Regions from separate parts of the Homo sapiens genome. Here region 2 is linked to region 1. Evidence: promoter capture Hi-C in 16 types of primary human blood cells and fetal thymus (Javierre and others, 2016). All regions are on one chromosome and are shown on one strand. Each heading gives the region's core, a stretch centred on a gene start or on the middle of the fragment in contact. The rest is flanking DNA. Distances are from core to core; before and after follow the strand shown. Region 1 holds the start of FBXO7 (F-box protein 7). Region 2 overlaps MIAT (myocardial infarction associated transcript).

What was found. The method cuts DNA at HindIII sites, captures the fragments that hold promoters and counts their contacts. A CHiCAGO score of 5 or more calls a contact.
Region 2: a contact is called between a fragment that was not itself captured here and the fragment with the promoter of FBXO7 in region 1, in 1 of 17 cell types (total CD8 T cells). The highest score is 5.1, in total CD8 T cells.

The regions. Positions count from the first base shown.
Region 1 is chr22:32,472,050-32,477,033 of GRCh38, reverse strand. FBXO7 (F-box protein 7) reads right to left here and starts at 2,223. Exons shown (of 9, transcript NM_012179.4): 1 at 1,910-2,223. The coding sequence starts at 2,031. RefSeq lists enhancers at 1,707-1,876, 1,462-1,962, 2,131-2,300, 1,963-2,463, 3,189-3,248 and silencers at 1,633-1,942, 1,953-2,142. The HindIII fragment of the contact is 4,456 bases long and covers 512-4,967 here.
Region 2 is chr22:26,673,716-26,678,699 of GRCh38, reverse strand. It overlaps MIAT (myocardial infarction associated transcript), which reads right to left. Exons shown (of 5, transcript NR_033320.3): 5 at 2,222-4,984. The region is part of intron 1 of MIATNB (MIAT neighbor); the gene reads right to left. Among named protein-coding and RNA genes, the nearest start is that of MIATNB, 3.4 kb to the right of the region's middle. The HindIII fragment of the contact is 1,692 bases long and covers 2,889-4,580 here.

The sequences.
Region 1 (4,984 bases), core at 974-3,473:
TGTTTATGGGTCATTTGTCACAGCAAAAGGTTGCTTTTTAAAACAGTATCTAGTACAAGGTACGTTCAAGTATCTGTTTGCAGAAAAGGTCATGGTCCGCTTAATAAATATACCAGCTCTTCCTCCCACTTTAGAAAAAGGGAAAAGCTATTTCTAAAGTAATATATAGTTTTCCAGGATTCTACCTCTGAAATTGGGGCGTTAAGAGGAGTATTTAATTCCAGGAAATGAAATTCTAGAAACTCCAGCCTTCTTAGAAGTATTTCATGGCAGCTCTGCCTATGGAGTAGCCATTCTTTTATTCCTTTACTTTCTTAATAAACTTGCTTTCACTTTTCTCTTAAAAAACAAAAACAAAACAAATAAAAGCATTTCATGACAATCCTAGCTCCACTTGCTCAGTAAAGATATTTTTAAAATAATATCACATGGACATATTTTAAAACTGCACCTTTATTAGAAAATGAGTATACTTTCAGAAAAAATGAGTTTACTTTCACAAGCTGAAGCTTAAATTCTGTCCAGGTAACCAGCCTCAACTGTAAAAAGAAATCTGAAAGAGAAACCAACGTGCCCTTTTGGGCAGTCATATTGAGTTTCACGTCCTTTCAAGACTGCCTAATTTAAAAATAATAAAATATATATATACTTGGTAATACCTTTAAAAAATAAGTTTGAAGATTTATTCAATCTTCTACTCGTAACCTACTGGTAACGATGCCAGTATGTAAAACACACAGGTTTAACAACAAGAAATAACAGTAGGCATGTCACTTACTATAATGTTTAAAAGGAGTTATGTCAGTATCTTATTTAGGGTTTTTTTTTTAATCAGGAAGAAAACAGGCTTACTTTCAATCTAATAATGTCTTAACCAGGAAAATGAAAGGGCGAGAAGTTCAGAATAACGGCCTCATTTTACCCAATTCCCTAAAAATAAGGTGAAAACGTAGGAAGGTTTGCTTTTGTTTTGAAGAATTCACCTAAAAATCCCCAGGGAACATCTTTTTCATTTTTCCTTAGCACACTCAAGTTTCAAATTCACTAGCTCAGTATTTGAAGAGGACCACTCTTACCTTGCCGCTTTACTCCCAAATTATTGTCCCCAAAAAGTATCTTTTAGGGAAACAAAGCAGCTTCACCTGCAGTCCCACAAACCAATAACAGAATATGATCCTTTCTCAACTTTACTGCCCCCAAACTGCAAGCTCTCAAGATCAACGTTTGCCTCAGTTTTAGCAAAAAAGCAACATTTCACCCAAGAAAATGAAATGGTCTGAAACACGCCTACACGCTGTCCTTTCTAAAACTTTTCGGCGGCGAAGTCCAAGCGCTCACCGCGGTGCTCGGCGCATGAACACAACAGAATCTAAAATTGTTGCCGCTTCACAGCAGCGATACAAGCTACCGGTGGCCTCGGATTGAGGGCAGATTTTTAACTTCTAGCAATTTCCAAACTTTTTCATTGAAATACTCCAACAGCTGAAGAAATTAACTCGGACCCCTCACAGTCCAGAAAGGTTTAACCCAAGCCAAGCTCATCATTTCCAACTTGAAATCTAACCAGTTGTGGAAATTGTGCGTTCCCTCCTCTCCCTGGTTCCGTTTACTGCAAAACCAGAAGCCATGACTCACCGAGGAGGGGACCAGAGCCCCCGGGAGGCCGGGCCATGTTCTCCAGGAGCCGGACCCCAGCCGACCACCCGCGCTTCCCGTCGCCTGCACCCTCCGGCTCCGCGACGCCCGGAAGAGCCCGGGCCTCCCGTGAAGGCCCCCCCGGCGTCCCCGCACTTGGCCTATCGCCCGGCCACGCCCGCGCCTGCAGCCCACAGATGACGCCAACCCGCCCTGCACCCACCCCAAGCACTCCCCACTCCCCGCGGGCCGCCCAGCCCCGGCCCCAGCGTACCTGTACCCCCAGGTGCACAGCAGGGACTGCCTCAGGTGCGAGCGCAAATGCCCCAGCGTCGGCTCCGTCTCGGGCACCTCCAGCGGCCAGGTCCGCTTCAGAAGCCGCACCCGCAGCCTCATGACGGCGGCAGGCGGCCCGAGGGGCCTGGACCCGGAAGCGGCGACGGGGACGGCGGCGGGGCCGAGCAGCTCCCGCCCCAAACGGCGACGACCCCGGACTGGCGACTACCGGAGCTGAGGGGTAGCTGAGGCGAAACGGGGAAAGAGCCCCGCCACAGTGGCCGCCCTGCCACTCGGTCTCTGGAATAGAGCGCCCGCCCCTCTCCTGAGGGCGCCTCCTGGAGCCGACCCCGAGAGCTGGAGGCGGGCAGGCGGCCTAAAGGAACCGGGCCTCTCGGGGTCGGCCGATCGATGACTCCGCGCGCAACGGCGCTGCCTGAGAGCGCGGGCACAGTGCGCAGGCGCCGAGATGCGGCCGCTCGCTGGCATCCCAGATTTTCCGCGGCGGTGGCTGGGACTCCCAGTACTTACTCCCTGTGTGCGTGGAACAACGGTAGCGCTGATAGGGATGCTGCAGACAGACAATACAGTCGCCACTCCCCAGGACCAAGTGTCACCCCCTTTCTTCCGTGGCCCTCAGTTCCAGCGGCATCTGCTCTGAGAAGCCTTAGGTTAATCCTTAGGTTGGCCGGGCGCGGTGGCTCACGCCTGTAATCCCAGCACTTTGGGAGGCCGAGGCGGGTGGATCGTTTGAGCCCAGGAGTTCGAGACCAGCCTGGGCAACATGGTGAAACCCCCCCCCCCATCTCTACAAAAAATACAAAAAATTAGGTGTGGTGGCGCCTGCCTGTAGTCCCAGCTAGTTGGGTGGCTGAGGCGGGAGGGTCGATTGAGCCCGGAGGTCGAGGCCTCAATGAGCTGTGATCGCACCACTGCACCTCAGCCTGGTTCCACAGAACGAGACCCTGTCTCAAAAAAAAAGTAGAACTATTTGTAGCCAGTAATCTATGTCCGACAGTTTATTAGAACTCTGTGGCTGCATAACAATCACCCCAAAGTTTAACGCAATAAACATTTGTTGTCCCACAGGTTTTAGAGGTAAAGGGATTTGGGGATGCGTGGCTGGGTGGTTCTGTCTCCAGGTCTCCCATGAGATTACAAACTGTAGGCCAGGGCAGCAGTTATTGACTAGGGCTGGAGGATCGGCCTCCAGGATGGCACAGTCATGACTGTTGGCCAGAGACCTGTTTTCACCACGTGAACCTCCCCATAGGGCTGTTTGAGTGTCCCCATGACATGGCAGCTGGCTTCCTTCAGAGCAGGTGATCCCAGAGAGACCAAGGTATAAGCCACAATGTCTTTTATGACCTAGCTCCAGAGGTCACATACGGCTTTTGTCATATTTACAAACCAACCCTATGTGTGAGAGGATCCAGCCAAAGGTATGAATGCCAACAGACAGGGATCGCTGCGGGCCATCCTGGAGGCTGGCTACCATAGAGGGTCTAACTAATGATAACTTAGATGAGAGAGAGTATCAAGTTTCGTCCTTGTGTGATAACCATAGTCCAAATCCTTAGAGTCAAATAAAGTTTCTCCCAATAGGTGGCAGCACTTGTCCACATCCTGCCCTTGATTCTGCAAATAAATATGTATTGATTGCCTACTTTGTGACAGATACCCCACATGCTGGAGACTCAAGAGACCAAAAAGACATGTTTCTGCCCATGCAAAGTTTACAGTTGAGTGAATCAGCTCTTTCAGTAGAGTGTAAAAAGTCTCTGCTTTATGATAGACATAAATACAGACCTGAGGAATGGGATTGTTAGAAATGTTTGTTTTTTGATGTTGTAAAGAAATAGCACTTGAATATAAATTTAATTTTTTTAGCAAGGCCATTTTTATTTTTTGTAGAAAGGGTATACTCGCCAGCAGTTTTGTCACGAGAGTACACCGAACAAAGGAGACAGGGTCATATATAACCTGATGTGTCCACTTTACTGCTGTGTCTGGTTTTTTGTTTGTTTTTGTTTTTTTTTGTTGTTGTTGTTGTTTGAGATGGAGTCGCGCTCTGTCGCCCAGGCTGGAGTGCAGTGGCGTGATCTCGGCTCACTGCAAGCTCCGCCTCCTGGGTTCACGCCATTCTCCTGCCTCAGCCTCCCGAGTAGCTGGGACTACAGGCACCCGCCACCACACCTGGCTAATTTTTGTATTATTATTATTATTATTATTATTATTATTATTATTATTATTTTATTATTATTTTAGTGGAGATGGGGTTTCACCGTGTTAGCCAGGATGGTCTCGATCTCCTGACCTGATCCGCCCGCCTCGGCCTCCCAAAGTGCTGGGATTACAGGCGTGAGCCACCGCGCCTGGCCTGTGTCTGGTTTTTATTGGCTGGAATGGGACTTTATATTTTGTATTTGTCTTGATTGGCTAGTAATTTAGAACTTTTTAAAAGAGGCAAAGGCAGAGGAGAACAAAGCAAGGAGGAAGTAACTTGTGGAATGTTGAGAAAGGTCAACACCCCTTTAAGGAAGAGGAATAGGCTATGACTTAATGTTTGTTTGAACTAGTATAAATATGTTAGGGCAAATATTTAGGCTAAATTGTGGGAGTTAAGATTGTAAAGTACATTGATTTTTTTATTATGGCTAGCAGATATTTAAGAATGTTAGCATGGGTGTTTGAATACATTTTGGTTTTAAGAGGGTACATAGAGGAGGTTTGCCATGCCCGTAGGATTCTTTAGTAGTGAGCAGTGAGGAATGGTGCCAGGACCAGGATGACTCTGTGTGACCAGAGTGATGGACAGCATAGGTACATCCCAGATAAAGAAGAGCCTTGGGCTAAGCACAGGGTTTGGGACATATTCTAGAATGTATGGGAAGCCGCTAGACAGTTTTTAGCAGGGAGTCTTTACTATCAGGGTTCTTAATTTTCAGCAGTAGAAGCTGACTCTGGCTGACTAAGCAGAAAAGGTGTGTATTAAAAGGATGCTGTACAGCTCAGGGAATTCTAGGGAGGATGGAGAAGTGGCCCCAGGCTAAGCTTCCAAGAATGAAGCTCA
Region 2 (4,984 bases), core at 2,485-4,984, 5.8 Mb after region 1:
CATTTTGCTGAATGAATGAAACAGGGGCCAGTTGAGCCTTGTGAGTGGCCAGCATCCACAATGCCTTTGAAAAAACACCTGCAACTGGGCCTGGCTGCCCAGAACACTTTTCTGAGAAAAAGGCTGAAAATGCACCCAAGTTCCCAAAGATAGGCAGGCAATCAGCTAGCACTGTGCGTCATATGGCAAGAGTGTAAAGAGCCTGAAGCCAAAATGTTTGAGAACTGCAGTGATAGAGTACTGTGGACAGGGTGGTCAGGGGAGGCTTCTCTGAACAAGTGATGTTCAGCTGAGCGCCAACAAGAAGTCAGCCACGTGAAAACCAGAGGGACATACATTCTAAGTGACGGGAAAAGCCAGTGCAAAAGTAGGTACCCAGGCGAGAGCAAATAGGTGCACTGGTAACAGAAAGGCCAGCAACCTGGCATCCCAGAGGCTAGGGCAGTGCCCACTATAAAAGAAGGACTCAGTAAACAGCTGCTGGGTGAATAGAGGGAGGGAGAGGAGGAAGAGAAAGGAGGACTGGGAGGAAGCTCTCTTCTCATTAGGGGTCTTGTAGTCCTTTGAGGGCAGGGGGGCTCACAAGTTCTGCCAGCCGTGGGAGATTCCCAACTCTTCTTACCACGCCTTGAACACTGCTGCACAGACCAGCCTCCACTTCTTAGCTCAATCTGTAACCTCCTCTGAAGTGTCCACCCTGCCCCCACCCCAATATCCTATCAATATCCTCATCTCCTACCGAACCAGTCCAATGAATCTTGGAGAAGCCATCCTGAAATGCCCTGCACCATCACTATTTTCTCCTGATTTATTGACTATTCCCCATCCTTCAAGGTTCCCCTCAAGTTTTGATTCTCCCAGAAAGCCATCCCTTACTGCCCCCACCCTCACCCCACCTCCTCCTGACCTTCTTTCCAACAGAGCACCTCTGGCCCCCAATCTCATCATCTGGTGCTAACACAGAATGAGGTTTCAGGGAACACTTGCAGGGCATCAAGCGCTGTCTTAGCTCTGCAAGAACGCTTGGGAACCTTCACAATGGCCCTATGAGGTGGGAGTGGTCTCCCCATTCTACAGAGCCGATGGAGGCTCAGGGAAGGGCAATCATCCCCAAGATCTAACAGCAGGTGTGTGGCAAAGCTGGGATTCAAACTGAGGATTATCAGTAGTCTCAATCCTAAGACTGACTCCAAAGTTCTTTTAAAACTTGGCTACCCAGAACACTGTTCTGAGAAAGAGCCTGAAAATGCACCCAAGTTCCCAAAGAGAGATAGGCAATCAACTTGCAATGTCTGTCAAGGATGCTGAAGGGAAGAGTGGCGATGTGTGTGGCTTATATTTGCCAGTCCTTCACGATCACACACTAAACTCTATCTTTTTCTCTGTCACCAAGGAACTCTTTGACTCCCCAGTGAAGTATAAGATCCCTGGCAGGCCATGCGCGGTGGCTCAAGCCTGTAAACCCAGCACTTTGGGAGGCCGAGGCGGGCAGATCACGAGGTCAGGAGATCGAGACCATCCTGGCTAACACGGTGAAACCCCGTCTCTACTAAAAATACAAAAAATTAGCCGGGCGTGGTGGTGGGTGCCTGTAGTCCCAGCTACTCAGGAGGCTGAGGCAGGAGAATGGCGTGAACCCAGGAGGCAGAGCTTACAGTGAGCCGAGACCGCGCCACTGCACCCCAGTCTGGGCAACAGAGCAAGACTCCATCTCAAAAAAAAAATAATAATAAAATAAACAAATTCCCTGGCAATAAGAACCTGGATTTCTGGAAGCACTGCCCTAGGCATAAAGAAGTGTTATTTTTTAAAAATACCACCAGGCACAGTGGTGCACGCCTGCAGTCCCAGCTACTCAAGAGGCTGAAGCAAGAGGATCGCTTGAGACCAGGAGATCAAAGCCAGCCTGGGCAACATAGCAAGACCTCATCTCTAAAAAAAAGAAAAGAAAAATAAATACCAATGGTGATAATGGTTGCACAACAATGTGAATGATACCACCAAGATGTTCACTTAGAAATTATTATGGTGGTGAAGTTTTATGTTATGATTATTTTACCAAAATTAAAAAATAAAATACCCTATTATATTGACTTCTAGGGTCACTCTTGAGGAAAGGCTGACTCACCGAGAGAGCCCACCCCTGCTCCTTGAGAATGCCACTGGCTGCCCCCTCTCCCCTAAACAGCACGTCCCTTCTGCTTCATAGGCCACAGTCATGTTTCCAGCGTGAATTGATTTTTAATAGCAAAATGGCATTTTACACAGAAGCAGCTACATTCATGGATGAAAACAAAAATCCAAGTGACGCTCCTTTGTTGAATCCATGTAAAAATCTGATTTTTAATCTACAGAGAAATTTCTACCCACACATTCGGTATCCCCTGGGGGTAATGACATGGAAAACAAACATCTTTTCTGGTCTGTTAAAGTAAAACAATGGGTCCCTGGATAGACTCTCAAGAGGGCCTTTGATGGAATGGAACCAGTCCCCCCACCCCGAAAGCATCCCCCCAGCTCAACATGTCACCATTTACACCAGCACAGCCCTCACATTGGGTCCACAGCACAACCTATTAAGAAAGGATTATAACACCTGTTCGGATTGGGAGGCCAATTCCTCAGCTCTAAGATCCTGCTCATAGCAAGCTTGATGTTCAGTAGACTCCAAAGCAGACTGAATGAGGGAGGGGTCGAAGAGAATGTGCCTGCTTGGGCTCAGCCTCCTCTAATATTGTCAAGATGCACACACACTCTTAGAATCTCACAACCATCGCCAATCTCTATGTTGGCCTAGTCCCAATCCTTCTGCCTCTGGGAACAAAAGGTTCATTACCCACCAAGGCATATTTTTCCCTCTCTGGGACCAGGATCAGCTCTTGCAAGCTTACTCCACACTTGTATCTGCCCCTTGCAGCCATGCATGACAAATGGGCTCCCTCCCCAATGGAATTATCTTATAGACTTGCAGCCTATGACTGTGTTTCCCCTGATCTTCTCCAGGGACTTCCCACCACCATGGGATGACATGTTTTCAAGATTGCTCCCCTTCCGAGCCTTTATTTTCACCTTGGTCCTCTTTACTTTCCAGTCATTGCAGAGATACTTCCAACTGGGGTAGACATGTATGGATTCTGTTTATCAAAAGATGGACCAAAGGGTCTTCCTAGTTTCAAAAAGTTCTGCTCAGTTGTCTAAAATGTGGCCAGAGGCCATTGCAAACTCCTCTGAGTTCCACCTGGGCTGGAAAAGCCAAATGGCCAGCCTAAAACTCAAATCCACTAACTCCCTTTCTCAGATCATATCCGTCGCTCCCCAAGGCCTAAGGATAAAATCTAAACTTCTTGGCAACCAGACCCGGCACCATGTCCATGTCTCCTATCTCTTGCTACATTCCACATGAACCTTCCAGAACCTCTTTGGATCCTCTCTGATCCCCAGAAACTGGTGTCCACCACTCTCGCTGCCCGGAACTCATCCCCACCCACACTCCACCCAGCCACAGCTCAGCTTAGATGCCTCCCTCTCCAGAAAGCCACCACAGGGTGGATTAGGTGTCTCTCTGTCCCCATTCCACCCCCCTGCACCCAACACACTAGAATTAAAGCTCCTGAAGACCAAATGGTGTTTAACTACCACTACATCCCCAATGCCTGGCACACGCCTGGCACAGAGTAGGTGCACATCAATCTTGTCTGTCTCCTTGGTGCTCCCACAGACCCCTGACCAATCATAACACCCATCTCACTGAATCACTATCTACTTCACCAACTCTCCCACTAGGCTATAAAAGCACCATGACGAAAAAGCCCAGGTGCAGGTCCCAGCGCCCAGAGCAGTGCCTGGCACATAGTAGATCCTTAGCAGCATCAAGTCTTTGCAGTTAAACAAAGAGGAGTTTCAGGAATAGGAGGTGTGAGCTTCCTGCTTTGAGTGAAATGGAGCAAGGCAGCCACTAGAGGATGGCAGGCAGGCACTTCCGGGTGTAGACTACCCCATCCAAGGTCCCTGCCAGCAGCCAAGGCATGTTCTCAAAGCTCTTTCTAAGACATCTTTTCTCTCTTGTGCCCTCTGCAGCTCAGGCCTCTGGATCACCCTTCACCCCCACTGCCAACTACAATTGGTTAGCTCTGAGTCCACAGTTGCCAGAGAAAAGGGCTCTCAGCACCAGACTAGCATTCAACGACCCAAGCAACCTGCCTCTAAGGTCTGTAAGCCAGCCTTTGACCTGTCCCTAAACTGATCCAATCCTCCAGGCCCTGCCTTGAACTGTCTTCTCCTGCAGACTCTGACTACCAGACTGAGTCAGCAAAACCTTGAACTAGTGCCACCTTTTACCTGCACCTGGAATCCCTTGCGTATGCTCCCTGCCCCTCTACTCCCAAAGGACGTTCCCTCAGTCTAAAGAGATCAAAAGTCCCTTCCAGAAAAACTCCCGTTTCCTCGGTGCAGCTAAATTGCACAGAAGAGTTTATGCTAGAAGAGCTAAAAGTTAGAACAGGAAGCTCAGATAATTTATACTACTAACATGTAAATGACTGACGGAGTTATAACCCTTCTGAATACTCTGATCTAAAGCTTTATGTCCTAGAACTTCCAAAACACAAAGTCCCCAAAATGAAGACTCTAGGCCCTGGCCTGGGGAAGGGTGACTCTATACAAAATGGCATATGCTCTGTAGACACCAGACAGGTATTTTAAGGTTTATAAGAGCTGCATCTACTTGTGCAAACTACTGTAGCTATAAGGCTATATTTTTTTAAGAACTGAAACCAAATGCAGACTATGAGGAGTGAAGATATGCCCAATGGCCAAAACCTTGCAAGACTGGCTATACTTCTGACCCCACCTTGGTGGGTACCACTGCTCCATCAGGCCTGGTCCACACCAGAGCCCTGGCACCTCCTTTAGAAAACTACCATCTTTACCGACTTCTGATTGTTCTGACTCAGAGCAGCCACCACGCCCAAAATTGTTAGCTATG